Linked DNA regions of Homo sapiens: region 1 is linked to region 2. Evidence: promoter capture Hi-C in 16 types of primary human blood cells and fetal thymus (Javierre and others, 2016). All regions are on one chromosome and are shown on one strand. Each heading gives the region's core, a stretch centred on a gene start or on the middle of the fragment in contact. The rest is flanking DNA. Distances are from core to core; before and after follow the strand shown. Region 1 has its middle 15 kb from the start of GIMAP6. Region 2 holds the start of GIMAP1 (GTPase, IMAP family member 1).

Evidence for each region. Contacts are between HindIII fragments. The CHiCAGO score rates a contact against its expected background, and 5 or more counts as called.
Region 1: a fragment that was not itself captured here is called in contact with the fragment with the promoter of GIMAP1 in region 2 in 4 of 17 cell types (activated CD4 T cells, naive CD8 T cells, non-activated CD4 T cells and 1 more); the score reaches 6.7 in activated CD4 T cells.

What each region holds. Positions count from the first base shown.
Region 1 is chr7:150,614,429-150,619,539 of GRCh38, forward strand. It overlaps the pseudogene TRPC6P3. Among named protein-coding and RNA genes, the nearest start is that of GIMAP6, 15 kb to the right of the region's middle. The HindIII fragment of the contact is 4,063 bases long and covers 409-4,471 here.
Region 2 is chr7:150,712,575-150,718,252 of GRCh38, forward strand. GIMAP1 (GTPase, IMAP family member 1) reads left to right here and starts at 4,039. Exons shown (of 3, transcript NM_130759.4): 1 at 4,039-4,116. GIMAP1-GIMAP5 (GIMAP1-GIMAP5 readthrough) reads left to right here and starts at 4,039. Exons shown (of 5, transcript NM_001303630.2): 1 at 4,039-4,116. The HindIII fragment of the contact is 9,233 bases long and covers 1-4,662 here.

The sequences.
Region 1 (5,111 bases), core at 1,190-3,689, 100 kb before region 2:
AAAGCTTTCATTTGCTGGCAAAATACAAGCTATCCCAGAGAAACTCAAAACCACAGCAACTGCACAAAGACCTTCAGACACCACCCAAGGATCAGAGGGGACCCACTCCCTCCTGGCCAAATTGTAGTATTTCACATTATCTCCCAGTGTTACTTCTGTCAAGTCCTTCAAAGTATCATTTGCATCAATGATGCTTTGGGCTTTGGAAGCATGCCAGAACGCCCTGAATCTTGCAATGAACAATGCTGTGAAAATCACTAACATACCAAAATCAAGCATATTCCACAACTCAAACAAATATTCCTTGGGGCCTTGAGTCCAAATTTCTTTACATTCAGTCCCATATCATGCCTCTGTGCTCATTAAATCTGTTTTTCTCCAGCAGAAGCAGGTTAACTGTGAAACTGAAGCTTCAAGATGACTTTACTTTCCCAGGCTCCTTCTAAGTCCTCACTTTGTCTTCTTTTTCTCTAAATGGGGCCTTCTGAATAAACAAGCCTCAGATTCCACTGGGTCTTACCCCATGTCTCACCCTCTTCATAATAAGTGCCTTAAGAAATTCAAGTAAGCAGAATGTTTGCTTTCACTTTGTCCCATTGTTACCCTGTTTCTTCCAAGTGCTCAGCTTTCCTGACGAGCTTCTTTCAGTGGTCCTCAGGTGTCCTTTGACGATGCATCCTCCACTTTCACATGCTCTAGCATTCCTTCACTGGGGTATTTGTCACCCCAAGTTGGGCAGCCAGGAATGTTGGGGTGATTGGACCCAACACCAGGTGGTGGGGGTGACAAAATCTGGTGGAGTCAAAGGAATGAGTAAAGACAGTTTGAGAGAGAAAGTGGGCCCAGGGCGCCAATGTGAGTAATGGAGGCTGTGAAGGCCCTGAGCTCTGGAAGCCCAGACTATTTATTGGTGATCAAACAAAGAAACAGGTGGTGAGAATGTGGGGTTGAAAGGGAACATTGCATTAAGCACATGATTTACAGCTATGACAGTTTAGCATATGCTCTGCTACTTGAGATAATGGAGAGAAGGTTCTTTTAACTCAAGATACAATCGATCCTGGCAGAGCAAGGAGCAAGGAGCCAGCAAGTCTAGACACATTCCAGAGGCCATGAGGGGTTTTATGTCCTGCGCTTACATTATGGTGCATCAGGGTAGGCTTCCACCCTTTAGCACAGAGCTTGGTGTTCCAAAGGCCAAGAGAGGTTTTAGACCCCGGACCCTGGACAGGTTCCAAGACTCTTTTACATTGTGTCAGACATGTAAGCCCTGCCTCAGCTTCTCCCAACACTCAGCTTTTCCCAACACCATGGAGGGTGAGCGTCACCTCACCTAGGACGTCCAAGCAGCCAGGGGCCTCCCTCCCACAGCCAAGGGAAGTTGTGAGGGACTGTGCTATTTGGCCCAGATAGAACTACACATTTCCCATGGTTTTTGCAATCCACAGACCAGGAGATTCCCTCGTGTGCCTACACCACCAGGGCCCTGGGTTTCCAGCACAAAACTGGGTGACTATTTGGGCAGACACAGAGCTAGCTGCAGGAGTGTTTTTTCACACCCCAGTGGCACCTGGAACCCCAGTGAGACAGAATGGTTCACTCCCCTTTAGAGAGGGCTGAAGCCAGGGAGCCAAGTGGTCTCGCTCAGCAGGTCCCAATCCCTTGGAGAACAGCAGGCTAAAAGCCACTGGCTTGAAATTCTCACTGCCAGCCCAGCAATCTGAAGTTGACCTGGGATGATGGAACTTGCTGGGGGGAGGGGCGTCCGCCATTACTGAGGCTTGAGTAGGCAGTTTTCCTCTGACAGTGAAAATACAGTCATGTATCCCTTAACAGGGATACCTTCTGAGAAATGCATTATTAAGTGGTTTCATTGTTGTGTGAAATCATAAAGCATACATACACAAATGTACATGGTACTGCCTACTACACACCGAGGCTACATAGCCTACTGTTGGGTATAGCCTATTGCTCCTAGGCCACAAATCTGTACAGAATGTTGCTGTACTGAATACTGCAGACAATTGTAACACAGTGGTAAGTATTTGTATATCTAAACACACATAAACACAGAAAATGCACAGTATAAAATATGGTATAAAAGATAAAAAATTGTATACCTGTATAGGGCACTTACCATAAATGGAGCTTGAAGGACTGAAAGTTCCTCTGGATGAGTCAGTGAGTGACAGGTGAGTGAATGTGAGGGCCTAGGACATTAGTGTACCCTACTGTAGACTTTATAAACACTGTACATGTAGACTATATTAAATTTATAAAAGATATTTTCTTTTTTCAATTTATTTTATTTTGTTTTTTATTATAGTTTAAGTTCTGGGATACATGTGCAGAACGTGCAGGTTTGTTACATAGGTATACATGTGCCATGGTGCACCTATCAACCCGTCATCTATGTTTTAATAATATTCATTGTGCTATAAATTTCCCTCAACACTGCTTTAGCTGTGTCCCAGAGATTCTGGTACATTGTCTCTTTGTTCTTATTGGATTCAAAGAACTTCTTTACTTCTACCTTAATTTTGTTATTTACCCAGTAGTCATTCAGGAGCAGGTTGTTCGGTTTCCATGTTGTTGTGCAGTTTTGAGTGAGTTTCTTAATCCTGAGTTCTATTTTGATTGCACTGTGGTCTGAAAGATTGTTTGTTATGATTTCTGTTCTCTTGCATTTGCTGAGGAGTGTTTTACTTCCAACTATGTGGTCGATTTTAGAATAAGTGCTATGTGGTGCTGAGAAGAATGTATATTCTATAGATTTGGGGTGGAGAGTCCTTTAGATGTCTATTAGGCCTGCTTGTCCAGAGCTGAGTTCAAGTCCTGGATATCCTTGTTAATTTTCTGTCTCATTGATCTGTCCAACCTGTATTGGGTGCATATATATTTAGGATAATTAGCTCTTTTTGTTGCATTGATCCATCTACCATTATGTAATGCCCTTCTTTGTCTTTATTTATCTTTGTTGGTTTAAAGTCTGTTTCATCAGAGAATAGAATCGCAACCCCTGCTTTTCTTTTTTTTTTTTTTTTTTTTTTTGCTTTTCATTGGCTTGGGAAATATTCCTCCATCCCTTTATTTTGAGTCTATGTGTGTCTTTGCACTTAAGATGGGTCTCCTGAATACAGCACATTGATAGGTCTTGACTCGTTATTCAGTTTGCCAGTCTGTGTCTTTTAATTGGGGCATTTAGCCCATTTACATTTAAGATTTTAAGCCCCGCATGCTTTAGGTATTTCTTCTAATGCTATCCCTCCCCTTGCCCTGCACCCCCTTACAGGCCCCAGTGTGTGATGTTCCCCTCCCTGTGTCCATGTGTTCTCATTGCTCAACTCTCATTTATGAGTGAGAACATGCAGTGTTTGGTTTTCTGTTCTTGCATTAGTTTGCTGAAAATGATGGTTTCCAGCTTCATCCATGTCCCTGCAAAGGACATGAACTCATCCATTTTTATGGCTGCATAGTATTCCATAGTGTATATGGGCCATGTTTTCTTTATCCTGTCTATCACTGATGGGCATTTGGGTTGGTTTCAAGTCTTTGGTATTGTAAATAGTGCTGCAATAAACATACATGTGCATGTGTCTTTATAGTAGAATGATTTATAATCCTTTGGATATATACCCAGTAATGGGATTGCTGGGTCAAATGGTATTTCTGGTTCTAGATCCTTGAGGAATCACCACACTGTCTTCCACAACGGTTGAACTAATTTATACTCCCACCAACAGTGTAAAAGCATTCTTATTTCTTCACATCCTCACCAGCATCTGTTGTTTCCTGACTTTTTAATGATCACCATTCTAACTGGTGTAAGATGGTATCTCATTGTGATTTTGATTTGCATTTCTCTAATGACCAGTGATGATGAGCTTTTTTTCATATGTTTGTTGGCTGCATAAATGTCTCGTTTTGAAATGTATCTGTTCATATCCTTCACCCACTTTTTGATGGGGTTGTTTGTTTTTTTCCTGTAAATTTGTTTAAGTCTCTTGTAGATTCTGCATATTAGCCCTTTGTCAGATGGATAGATTGCAAAAATTTTCTCCCATTCTGTAGGTTGCCTGTTCACTCTGATGATAGTTTCTTTTGTTGAGTAGAAGCTCTTTAGTTTAATTAGATCCAATTTGTCAATTTTGGCTTTTGTTGCCATTGCTTTTGGTGTTTTAGTCATGAAGTCTTTGCCCATGCCTATGTCCTGAATGGTATTAATAGCCTAGGTTTTCTTCTAGTGTTTTTATGGTTTTAGGTCTTATGTTTAAGTCTAATTCATCTTGAGTTAATTTTTGTATAAGGTGTAAGGAAGGGGTCCATTTTCAATTAAATTAAACTTAGGTTACTGTAACCTTTTTATTTTCTAAACTTTTTATTTAAATTTTTAGCTCTTGTAATAACACAATTTAAAACACAAACACATTGAACAACTGCACAAAAAATTTTAAAATATTCTTATTCTATAAGCTTTTGTCTTTTTCTACTTTTCAAACTTTTTGTTAAAAACTAAGGCACAAACACACACATTAGCTTAGGCCTACACATGGTCAGGATCATGAATTTCATTGTCTTCCACCTCCATACCTTTTCCCGCTGGAAGTTCTTCAGGGGCAATGGCACACATTGAACTGCCATCGTCTGTGATAACAATGACTTATTCTGGAATAGCTCCTGAAGAACCTGCCTGAGGGGCTATTTACAATTAACTTTTTTTATAAGTAGAAGGAGTATACTCTAAAACAATGATTTAAAATATAGTAAATACATAAACCAGTAACATAGTCATTTATTATTACAATCAAGTATTATGTACTGTAAATAATTGTATGTTCTATATGACTGGCAGCTTTTCACACCAATGTCACCACAAACATGTGAATAATGTGTTGCACTATGACATTCAATAGCTACTAGGTGATAGGAATTTTTTAGTCTCATGATAACCTTATGAAGCCACTGTAGTATATGCAGCCCTTAATTGATCAAAATGACACGATGCAGTGCATGACTATACCCAATTAAATGTAGTAATTTTAATATTATTTCTAATAATATTAACCATAGGTAGAATAAAATTACATACAAATAACATACACATATGTAGA
Region 2 (5,678 bases), core at 2,789-5,288:
CAGGATACAAAATCAATGTGCAAAAATCACAAGCATTCCTATACACCAATAACAGACAAACAGAGAGCCAAATCATGAGTGAATTCCCATTCACAATTGCTACAAAGTATATTAAATACCTAGGAATACAGCTTACAAGGGATGTGAACAACCTCTTCAAGGAGAACTATAAACCACTGCTCAAGGAAATAAGAGAGGACATAAACAAATGGAAAAACATTCCATGCTCATGGATAGGAAGAATCAACATTGTGAAAATGGCCATACTGCCCAAAGTAATTCATAGATTCAATGCTATTCCCATCAAGCTACCATTGACTTTCTTCACAGAACAAGAAAAAACTACTTTAAATTTCATATAGAACCAAAGAAGAGACTGTATAGCCAAGACAATCCTAAGCAAAAAGATCAAGATCAAAGCTGGTGGCATCACACTACCTGACTTCAAACTATACTACAAGGCTACAGTAACCAAAACAGCATGGTACTGGTACCAAAACAGATATATAGACCAATGGAACAAAACAGAGGCCTCAGAAATAACACTACACATATACAACCATCTGATCTCCAACAAATCTGACCAAAACAAGCAATGGGGAAAGGATTCCCTATTTAACAAGTGGCGCTGGGAAAACTGGCTAGCCATATGCAGAAAACTGAAACTGGACCCCTTCCTCACACCTTACGCCTTATACAAAAAATAACTCAAGATGTATTAAAGACTTAAATGTCAAACCTAAAGCCATAAAAACCGTAGAAGAAAACCTAGGCAATACCCTTCAAGACATAGGCATGGTAAAGACTTCATGACTAAAACACCAAAAGCAATTGCAAGAAAAGCCAAAACTGACAAATGGGATCTAATTAAACTAAAGAGCTTCTGCACAGCAAAAGAAACTATTATCAGAGTGAACAGACAACCTACAGAATGGGAGAAAATTTTTGCAATCTATCCATGTGACAAAGTCTAATATCCAGAATCTACAAAGAACTTAAACAAATTTACAAGAAAAAAAACAAACAACCCTATCAAAAATTGGGTGAAGGATATGAACAGACACTTCTCAAAAGAAGACATTTATGTGACAAACATATAAAAAAAACCTCATCATCACTGGTCATTAGAGAAATGCAAATCAAAACCACAATGAGATACCGTCTCACACCAGTTAGAGTGGCGATCATTAAAAAGTCAGGAAACAGATGCTGGAGAGGATGTGGAGAAATAGGAATGCTTTTACACTGTTGGTGGGAGTGTAAAGTAGTTCAACCATTGTGGAAAACAGTGTGGCAATTCCTCAAGGATCTAAAACCAGAAATACCATTTGACCCAGCAATCCCATTACTGGGTATATACCCAAAGGATTATAAATTATTCTGCTATAAAGACACATGCATATATATGTTTATTACAGCACTGTTCACAATAGCAAAGACTTGGAACCAACCCAAATGCCCATCAGTGATAGACTGGATAAAGAAAGTGTGGCCCATATATACCATGGAATACTATGCAGCCATAAAAAGTATGAGTTCATGTCCTTTGTAGGGACATGGATGAAGCTGGAAACCATCATTCTCAGGAAACTAACACAGGAACAGAAAACCGAACACTGCATGTTCTCACTCATAAGTGGGAGTTGAACAATGAGAACACATGGACACAGGGAGGGGAACATCACACATGGGGGCCTGTCGGGGGTTGGGGAGGCAAGTGGAGGGAGAGCATTGGGACAAATACCTTAAAACCTAGATGACAGGTTGATGGGTGCAGCAGACCACCATGGCAAATGTATACCTATGTAACAAACCTGCATGTTCTGCACATGTATCCCAGAATGTAAAGTACATTAAATAAAAATTTTTAAGTATGCAGCTCCTTCCCATTCTCTCTTGCTCCTACTCCAGCCATGAGATGTGTGTGCTTCCCCTCTGGCTTCTGCCATGATTGTAAGTTTCCTGAGGCCTCCCCAGAAGCCAAGGAGATGCCAGCATCATGCTCCCTGTACAGGCTGTGGAACCGTGAGCCAATTAAATCTCTTTTCTTTATAAATTACCCAATCTCGGGTATTTCTTTAAAGCAGCGTGAGGACGGACTAATACATTTTCTTCACTGCATTTATAAGGATACGGAAGAAAACAATGAACATGCAAAGACTGGAAAGAGAGGAAGGAAGCATTAATACAGGGTACAAAAGGAAGCCGGAGTTCTAGATATAATTCTGAGACTCAAGTGTAGTCAGGGTCTGAGCTTCACCTGGGTTTCCACAACTGATAGTAAGTATCAATGAATAATAATAGGCAACAAAGCCCAGAGACAGTGAGACATAATCAAGAGCTAATAGAAATGTAGAGGAAAATAAAGACAGAAACGGTTACTTTTCAATAGGAAGAAGATCCCAGAAAGCACCAGTAGGAAAGTGGAAATGTGGGACGGGAAGGGATAGTAGCCAATGCAAGTTGCATTAATGAGCACATTACCACTGTATACGGTGATGAGGATGTTCCCACTGCAGACAACTGGGTCTCAGTCCTGCTGGGGACTCAGCAATTTGTATGCAGTACATCACAGAGTTGTCTCACGTGGTGGACAACTTGATAAGTTGTGGTGTTTATCCATAAGTCCTAACTGACATTGATTGAAATCTGCTCCTAGGATATCAGCTCTGACAACTTCAGGCTGCTGCATGCATTACCTACATATACTTTTGTAGTCAGATAAACCCTCTGACAGAGAGTTATGAGTGGCTGAAGTAAGACATCATACACATGCATGGAAACAATAAATGGCCCGGAGCTGTTGAAGAGGCTCTGAAAGCGTCTTTATGAAAGGTACACGTCAAGTATCAAAGACTTATTCAAAGCTGATCTATGTGGCTTGGGCTAGGATGAGGCTAGTGAGAAGCCCTAGGCACCTCACTCTTAAGAAAACACTCACTCCCAGGGTCACCCACCTACAAGATCTGCACTTGGGTGACCTGAGAGTGAGTGCCTCCTTAAGCTGTGTGCTCTAGATGCCCCACCTGCCTCACAATAGCCCCAGCCCTGCCGGTCTACTGGGAGAATGACAGGCTCCCTGTTTCAGCAATGATGAATGGAAACAGTGGACATGTCAGATATCCAGGAGACTCTGTGCCCCCAAAAAGATGGGAAACAGTAAAAGCTGGGTCTCTTCCCTACCAGAAAAAAAGTGGTCTGGCATGAAAGAGGTTAAAAAGCAGATCCTATCCAGTAGGGTAAGACTCGGGTTATTGTCTTCCCCATATACTCCAGAAAGCCAACTCCAGAAAGTTTAAATGAGTTAGGTGAGGTCCTATAGCTGGTTAATGACCTAACCAGATATGCAGCCTGCTCCTCTGTAGCCTTCTTACCACCCAGTGATTCGCTTTTTTGCTGACCTCATGATGCTCTTGAGAGAAGATAGAATAACTAGAACTGGTGATACCAACATAGACGACTAGACTAAAGCCTCCTAATAAGGCTAAATTGAAGATAGTGCGAAGGTGTTCATCCTCAACATACCAGTTCACCCTCAAGTCCTTCAATAGCTGGGAAAGCCCTCCTCTCTCAGAGAATGATAAGACTTTGCCTTCAGGTTTTTCTGGCAGACTGGATCTGGGGCTGGCACTGGCCACATGAATGTCTAATTAATGGACAGATGATGAGAACAGCTATTACGTTATTTGTTCCGGGGCAGGAGACTCTCTGGGCCTATTTTATATGGGGAAATGTCCCTATAGGGCAAAGGCAACTGAAGATTAGCTCAGTAATCAATTTTAGAAGTACAGTCAGGCCTCAGAGACTACAACATCCCTCCCTTCTTAGAGCATGGCAAGATATTTGACATCATGAGGCCCTGCTGGAGACACATAACCTCAGTCACAGCAGAAAGTAGAGTCGGTAGGAGAAGTATTGCCAACCCACAGCTCAATGGGAAATGTTTCTGTCTCTTTAAACCATAACCATGGGGCCCACCCTGAGCTTCCTGATTTCTGAAGTCTGAGTGATTTCCTCCGTGTGCCGAGAGGAAACAGCCTTCTGCACTCACAGCCGAAGGGAAAGCAGCAGGTTGGGGCTTCTTGTGGCCAACTTCAGAGCCTGTCACCAGGAAAGGTGAGCCTGAGCCTGGGAGTGGCGGGGGCTGGGGGTGCTCTGAGAACCAGAAAGAACATGATTCCTAGAGTGTTTACTGCCTGAACACTTGCATTCTACAAGGCATCATGCAGGCGAGCAAGATCTGGAACAATCAAGGACATACTTCCAGGTTTTTAAGTAGGCAAAGTTCAGAGGAAATTTTAGGATCATCTTCTCCAGCTCTGGAGCACACACGTTCTTGGTGGGGAGTGAAATCTGTCTCCTCCCACATTCCCTTAACAAAGTAAGAAAAGAGTGTGCTGGAACCACCTCCAGGAATAAAATACAGTTTGAAAGGCATTAAACATTCCTCAAGCTCCCTATTGAGCAAAGGCAAAAGATATTTCTATGGCCCCATAAGCCATCTAACCTCGGAGTGAGTTACGACGTGACAAGACTGGGTACATTTGAACTCTCCTCCTCACTGTCCACAGAAGGGGCCCCTGAGGAGACATCTGAGATTAATATCTTGGTCTTCAACCCCTTTCCCTGCATGGCCCCTTAAACATCTGCTCCCTTAATTCAAGCTTCTCCTGCTCCAGCCACGGGGACACCTCAAATTCCCATCTGTACAATAAAGGGGGTTGCAAAAATGACTGATGTCCAAGTTCTGAGCTGTGGACATCAGAAACATTTAATTCATGAATCAGAATCTCAGGATGGATCCAAGAGATGTACATTTTTAAAGAACATTCAAGTAATTCTGAGAAGCAGCACATTTGAGCGGTGAAGAACTCAATAAACTTTGCGGTCTCTTAAAGTGTTAGGAATACAGGATTCTATAAGTGTACATTCCTCAATGATTAAGGGCCATTTGTCACCTCAGAGTTCAGCTGGGTCTTACTTTCCTTTAAAAAAAAAAACTATTTAAAATCATTTCAACCCCTCTTCTAAACTATGGAAAATTCCAAAGGCCTATCCAGAATTCTGCAGCACTGGAAAAAGAAATTCTCATTTTCTTGGTTGACAAGGACATTTTGCTTCATCTAAATTCTTTTCTCTGAATCTTGCAACTGTTTCTTCATTTCTGCTTTGATGTCATTTATGATCATCTGTTCATTCCTACATGCAAAATAATTAATCACATAAGGCCCATGGAGTGAATTTTATTGAAGGCTTTGGGGAGGGCCAGTAGAGTTCCTGCAGAAACAGAAACAGCTCTAGATTTAATATGAGGCAAATCTGTTCTCCAAGTCCTTCAATCAAAGACAAGTTACTCAGCCAGCCTCTCTCTCTGCCCCTCCTTCATGTGTGGTGCCAATGGGAGAGAACACAGGTATCCAAGTGACCAGGGTGCAAGACACAACAAGTTTGACATGGATGGTGAGGCACAGACAGATGGTCGGGGAGGATCAATAGTCCTAGGAGGGGAAGCCGAGTGGGTTGGAAAGGCCCTGAAATCTGCTGATTGTGAAGTAGCTGACCGAGTGGGGTATTGTCTGGGAATGAGGCTGGAGACATAGATGCAGGGAGAAGTGAATTTGTGTTCAGGAGCTTGTGTGATTAGGCAAACTGGATCACAGAGGGTTTAGCTGTATTAC